Linked DNA regions of Homo sapiens: region 2 is linked to region 1. Evidence: promoter capture Hi-C in human tissues and cell types (Jung and others, 2019). All regions are on one chromosome and are shown on one strand. Each heading gives the region's core, a stretch centred on a gene start or on the middle of the fragment in contact. The rest is flanking DNA. Distances are from core to core; before and after follow the strand shown. Region 1 holds the start of FECH (ferrochelatase). Region 2 has its middle 40 kb from the start of ATP8B1.

Region 1 (3,119 bases), core at 392-2,891:
GCCAGCACAGCATTGCGAGGTGTGCAGCCTTTCAATTTAGTTTCTTTAGAAGAAATGGGCTCAGGCCGCGCATGGTGACTCACGCCTGTAATCCCAGCACTTTGGGAGGCCGAGGTGGGTGGACCACTTGAGGTCAGAAGTTCGAGACCAGTCTGGCCAACATGGCAAAACTCTGTATCTACTGGAAATACAAAACAAACAAATAACAACAACAACAACAAAAATGGGTTCAGACTGTAGGTAGAGAAGTATGTTATCCATGAAGATCACCTCTTTACAGGGCAACTTAAGAAGACTATAATTTTTTTATGAGGGTAGAGAATAGCCACACATATAAGGAAGGTGGGTTGATACCTGGAGCAGGTTTTACTGTGCTTTTCTCAGGACATCCGCTTGGATATGAAGATCATGTAGGTAATATGAAAGGCTATCCATTTAATTTGACATTTTGCATTGGGCTTATAACCATCAGGAGGACCAACTTTAATAAGAAATAAACTAATTCCATCAGTAGCACATATTTAAGCTACAGAAAACTGGGTTTCAGCTGAATCTAGACTCCATCTTCCCTGAATGTTCCATATGGCTTGCCCCCTTTGCTCAAATGTGTATAAGGCCTTTGCTCGAATGTGTGAGACTCTGACCCACCTGCTTCAAATTGCATTAGTCCCTTCCCCCACCCTACCCCATCTCTTTTACCTTGCTTCATTCTTCTTTTGTCCTGAGAGGGAAAAAGAAGAGGGGAGGCCGTGGAAGGGCTCCATCATTCAAAGTATTACATGTTGTGATTATTTTCTGTGTCTCCCCTAACCCCATGTAAGCCCCCGTCTACTCTTTTCACTACTGTTTTCCCAGTGCACATAGTAGGTGCTCAATATTTGTTCAATGAATACCGATGCCTGAGACCTTTCTGTACCAAGGGCTGGTTTCCTACTCCACAATGCACTGAACATATATAGGCAGGGTGGGCTGACGGAGGTGTAGGAATGAAATGGGCGCCTGTTCCTCCCAGTGATCTCAGTGTGCGACCTTGGGGGCGGGACGGGCGGCTAAACTGGGAAGGTGCGCGGATATGATACAGACAAACCTCATCATACCGTCCCTCCAAGAAATGCACTTGCCAGGCTGGCCTTCACTTTTCCTAATGCTCTTCAGTGAGTTTCACCTGTCAAATTCTGCTACACAGAGAGGGTGCAGAGAAACTGAATAATCCCTTTTTCTATTCTGAAAATAAAGCAAAACAAAACAGGATCTGCACACTTGTGTTGTGACTAGGCAGGCAAACTGGAGAACTGAGGCAAAAGCATCCTTATATCTAAATAATAGTAATGGAAACGTCGAAAAAAGTTATTTGCTGAGTCATGGCTGAGGATCCTGACTTCGCTAGTTTGGCAGATGCAAACAGGGCACGCAACTAGGAGTCCAGCAGGTTTTGCAGTGACCTGCGATGGTGGTGGGGAGCGGGCTTCTAGCTCAGCCCCCGGGCCCATTTTCACGCAGGGAGCGGCGCCCAGCTGGGGCGGGCTCTCCGCGAGGGGCGTGTCTCTGCCTGGCCTCGCCCGCCCCGGCCCGGCAGCGAATGAGCGGGCGCGCCGGGAGGGCGCGAGGTCAGGGGGCTGGGGACGCGCGTGGGGATCGCTACCCGGCTCGGCCACTGCTGGGCGGACACCTGGGCGCGCCGCCGCGGGAGGAGCCCGGACTCGGGCCGAGGCTGCCCAGGCAATGCGTTCACTCGGCGCAAACATGGCTGCGGCCCTGCGCGCCGCGGGCGTCCTGCTCCGCGATCCGCGTAAGTGGGTCTGTCGCGGCGGCCGCCAGGGCCAGGATCCCTGAGAAGGCGTGGGCAGAGCGGGCAGCTGGCGCCCGGGCCCTCGCGCCCGGGGGATTCGGGGAGCGGCCTTGGGGGTGCTGCGAGCAACCGGGCGAGGGGCGTCGCGGAGAAGGGAGGGCTGAGGGCAGCACTCAGGGCTCGGGAGGCCGCGGGGAGGGCGCCCGGATCCAGGAGGCGCAGGTTCAAGTCCCATCGGTCGGCTGGGTGGCTTGGAGCAGTGGCTGGAATTTCCCAGAGCCTTGGTTATTGTCACCTGCAATAACCAGGCTGTTGAGAAGATTACGCGAGGGAAGGTATGTTATGGGCCTGCCATAGAGGATAGTAAGGAAGGCATCTTCATCATCACCACCATGGACATCTGCCCTGCAGTTCCCTCCCTGCTGAGGAAAGCCCATGGTCCTTGGTCCCTCTGTGCCCACTTCTCCTTAGCAGCGGGACCCCCCGTGGGGCAGCCTGGGCTAGCGTTTTCTAGAGATATCTGGGGAACTTGTAAGACCCAGGAACAGCCTCCCACGTTTCTGATGCAAACCGTGAATAGGTTGTGACCACAGGATGAGCTGATGGGACTGTGGATCTCACACACCTGGCTGGGACAGCATTTCCAACTGTGACACCTTGAACAAGGCACCTAACCTCGCCAGAGCTTTGGTAAATGTACATTGAAATCCTAATTTTTTTTTTAAGGCTTGCCTTGAACATGAGCACCTTGCCTGGCACACAGTAGTACACAGGCATCCTCAAGATGTCTAGCCATTCATGCAGAAGGCTGCCACGAATAAGATGCTTATTCAATGCATCCGAACGGTGACTGGACACAGACCGGACATATTTTTCTAAGACGTTCGTCAGTCTGACACCTACTTGGAGTGGAGGGAATCCCCTCTGAACCTCCATATCTCATTAGACGTGCCTTTGTTAGGAAAATACTAAGGACCCAGTGTACAATGAGGCTAGCTCACTAAGGGCGCTGGGGGACAAAGGGCATTGTTTTTTAAGAAGAGGCAGCACAGTGCCAGTCGTGGGGCTGAAAGAAGTATTGAACTAATCTTTTCTTTCACTGACCTTTCCTGTGGCAAATAAAGTCTGACAGGTCCTAGATTTGAGGTCGTGGAACAATATGTGAAACTTTAAATTATTTGTAGTCTAGGTTAAAAGTGGAAAGATTCAGAAACGCTAGCAGAAGTAGATTTGGAGTCTTATTTGTGTTACAGACTTTGATTTGAAGGCATAGTTATAATACTTCATCATTTTGGTTGATAGGAAAAGATCAACTTCTGTGTGAGAAAAC
Region 2 (3,102 bases), core at 441-2,940, 260 kb before region 1:
TGTAGAGATGGGGTTTCTCTATGTTGGTCAGGCTGGTCTCGAACTCCTGAACTCAGGTGATCGGCCCTACTTGGCCTCCCAAAGCACAGGGATTACAGGCATGAGCCATCGTGCCCGGCCAAAGGGCAGCATTTCTAAGGAGAGATTGTGGATGGGAAGCAATTTTATGTATGTAACGAAATAAGAAAGGAACTAGGCTGGACATTGTTCAGAGGGCAATAAACAGTGGGTGAGTGATAGATGGGGAAAGATATTGCAGGGTACCTTCCAAGTGTGTATAAGGATTAATTTGCATCCTGTATTGCAAATATTTATAAATTCTTTCAAGTCCTTGAAAGAGAAGTCTAAATGTGGGATCAGAATGAATGAGAATGGTGAATTTTCTATAATGTGCAATCAAGCAAACTAGTGGGAAAATGAGAAAAGTCAAAAAAGCTAACAACGACATTGAAATAAAGCCTTGAAAAGAGTTTGATTTGCAAATTGGTATATGAGAGTTTACACGTTTAAATAATTTCCTACACCAAAGTAGCAGTCCTTGCATTTATGATAAACATGCTGCCCAGTGCAAGTCAGAATGTTTGAATTATTACTAAAGGATGTGAGCTGGGCCCTTCATGAAGAGCAGAAGTCAGCTAAACCACTTCGTGCTTTGAGGTACAAATGTAAATGAAATTAGCGGGAACTCTATCCCACCTGCAGTGGGACAGGAGTGGCGCAGCTCTTCCAACCTCCTCTGGCTCAGTTGGCCCCTTCAAGGCTCACTCATGGGTTCTGTGTTCGGGTGCCCCAGCATGACGCCCCAGATGAGAACACAAAGTCCTTTTCTCCATCTCTCCCCACGATGTCATAAGTGTTCACCAAAGGTTGAGAAAACGACCAAGAGGTGGCCGTTCTCACACTGGGGAATGCGATGGCACTCCTGGGCAAACAGCCTAATGCTGAACAGTGCGCACCTTCTCCTTCAGTCCTGAGAATTTCTTGGCAAACCTTCACCCCTAGGTGGGCTTTCCTCCACAGGCTGCAAGGCTTCTGCCACGTGGCTGTGACCTCCTGCTCCTCACTCCCATTACAGACTCCCTCATCCCTCCAGCCCCCTTCCTTGGATCTCTGCCAGCTCAACCAGCCTTGCTTCATTATGCAAAACACTCCAGGTCACACCTCAGCCAAATATCCATTCATGAGCTCTTCTTGCACCCTGGCCTCCCAGGGGAACATGCAAGGCTTTAAAATATTTTTTACTCCTTTCTCCCATCTCTCCAGCCCCAGTGAGAGGAAAAAGACAGGAAAAAGTTTACTTCCCCATGGAAATGATTTATGCTGGACCTCTTGGAAGGTCCAGTTGTCTGGCTAGAAACAGTTGAAGTCTAAAATACCCATAGCTTTCTTTCTGTACAGGAGTGGAAGACAAGTTTCAGAATGTTTGAGCCCTTCACCCAAAGGCACACAAGGCAGGTGGGGAGGCAGGAATCTAACCCAGGCTGAAGTTTCTAGATCTAGTATTTGTACTAAGCTGCCATGCTGCTTTATGTCTGTGACCATGTTGGAAAAAGTGTTTTAGCTGTACCATCACTTAGTTACAACTATTCTGATTCTGTTTAATCATCCACCTAACTTCATAGAAGTTAGGCTCAAGCTTCTATTTTCTTAATGTTTACATTTTTCCAATATAAAATAATAGAAAAAAATTGCTCATTATACTGGGGTAAGTAGTATCCCCTCAAAATTTATGTGTACCCAGAACCTCGGAATGTGACCTTATTTGGTGAAAGGATCTTTGCAGAATAATGAGTTAAGATGAGGTTATACTGGGTTAGATTTGAACCCAAATCCAATGACTTACTCCTTACAAGAAGGCCATATGAAGATGCTCAGGGAAGAAGGGCGTGTGAAGACAGCAGCAGAGATTGCAGGAACACAACTACAAGCCAGGAAACCCCAAGGATGACAGCCACCACCAGAAGCTAAGAGAGGCAAGAACAGATTCTCCCCAACAGCCTCCAGAAGGAACCAATCCTATCCAAACTTCAATTTCAGATTTCTGGGCTCCTGTGAGAGAATAAATTTCTGTTGTTTTAAGTCACCCAGTTTGTGGAACTTTGTTACAGCAGCAGTAGCAAACTAATAGGCTGATTAAAGGAAAATGGAAATTAACAGTGAAAAGGAGAGATGAATGAATGCCCATCTGATTTGCAGCTTCTTGACACTTTTGATGTGTTTCTTTCCAGTCATTTTGTGTTAGGTATAACCATGCTGCACATACACTTCTGTCTCCTGATTTTTGCTTAGTGTTAAAAACATTTATCCAGACTAATGTGTAAGTTTTGAAAGCATGATGTCAATGATTATATAATGTTTCACTAAGAGAATGCTCTAATTTTCTCATGATTATTTATCAGTGTCGTCCTGGGTTCATGTTTATTTAATTAACATGTATATCAACTGGTGCAGTCCTGGCACATTTTGTGACTGTCTGCTCACACTGGAGAGGCAGTTAAGAGCCTAGAGCTCAGGAGAGGTTGCCTGGCTTCCCACCTTACCCCACTTCTTACTAGCTGTATGACCTTGGGCTAATTACTTATTCTCTCTCTGCCTCAAGTTTCCTCACCTATAAAATATGAAAGAAAAGCCTACTTTATAGGGTTGTCTTGAAATAAATTAATGTCTGTACAGGACTGGCTCGTGGTAAGCCAGTGAATAAAATTGGTGAATAAAATTTATTCAGAGCATCTATTATGTGCTGGGTTCTTGAAAATACACTTAGTTCTTGAAAAAACTTTACCCTCCCAAGAAAGCCAACGTGTTAAAAAAAATGCATGCAAAAAGTCATAACAGAAGTAAAACCTTATGGTAAATTGGGGTTGGAATAGATTGTGTAGGTGGTGGACTGGGTTTCCGTTTCCCTCCATTAGACTGTGGCTGCAGTGGATGTCAATTGTTACAAAGTTTTCAAAATATATCATACATGCCTAAAAGTAGAATGACTCATTAAAAGGTGTGAACATTTTTAAAGGCTGTGGACATAATATATTGTCAACATGCTTTCCAAAAAGTAGTAGCAATTCACACTTTCTCCAGCAATACAGAGGGTTCTCTGCATCT

What was found. Contacts are between HindIII fragments. The study calls those that stand out against the background at their distance.
Region 2: a contact is called between a fragment that was not itself captured here and the fragment with the promoter of FECH in region 1, in 1 of the 25 tissues and cell types used here (aorta).

What each region holds. Positions count from the first base shown.
Region 1 is chr18:57,585,224-57,588,342 of GRCh38, reverse strand. It overlaps FECH (ferrochelatase), which reads left to right and starts at 1,641. Exons shown (of 11, transcript NM_000140.5): 1 at 1,641-1,789. The coding sequence starts at 1,723. RefSeq lists silencers at 1,460-1,819, 1,830-1,889, 1,900-1,949. The HindIII fragment of the contact is 16,879 bases long and covers 1-3,119 here.
Region 2 is chr18:57,841,555-57,844,656 of GRCh38, reverse strand. No RefSeq gene overlaps it. Among named protein-coding and RNA genes, the nearest start is that of ATP8B1, 40 kb to the right of the region's middle. The HindIII fragment of the contact is 7,328 bases long and covers 1-3,102 here.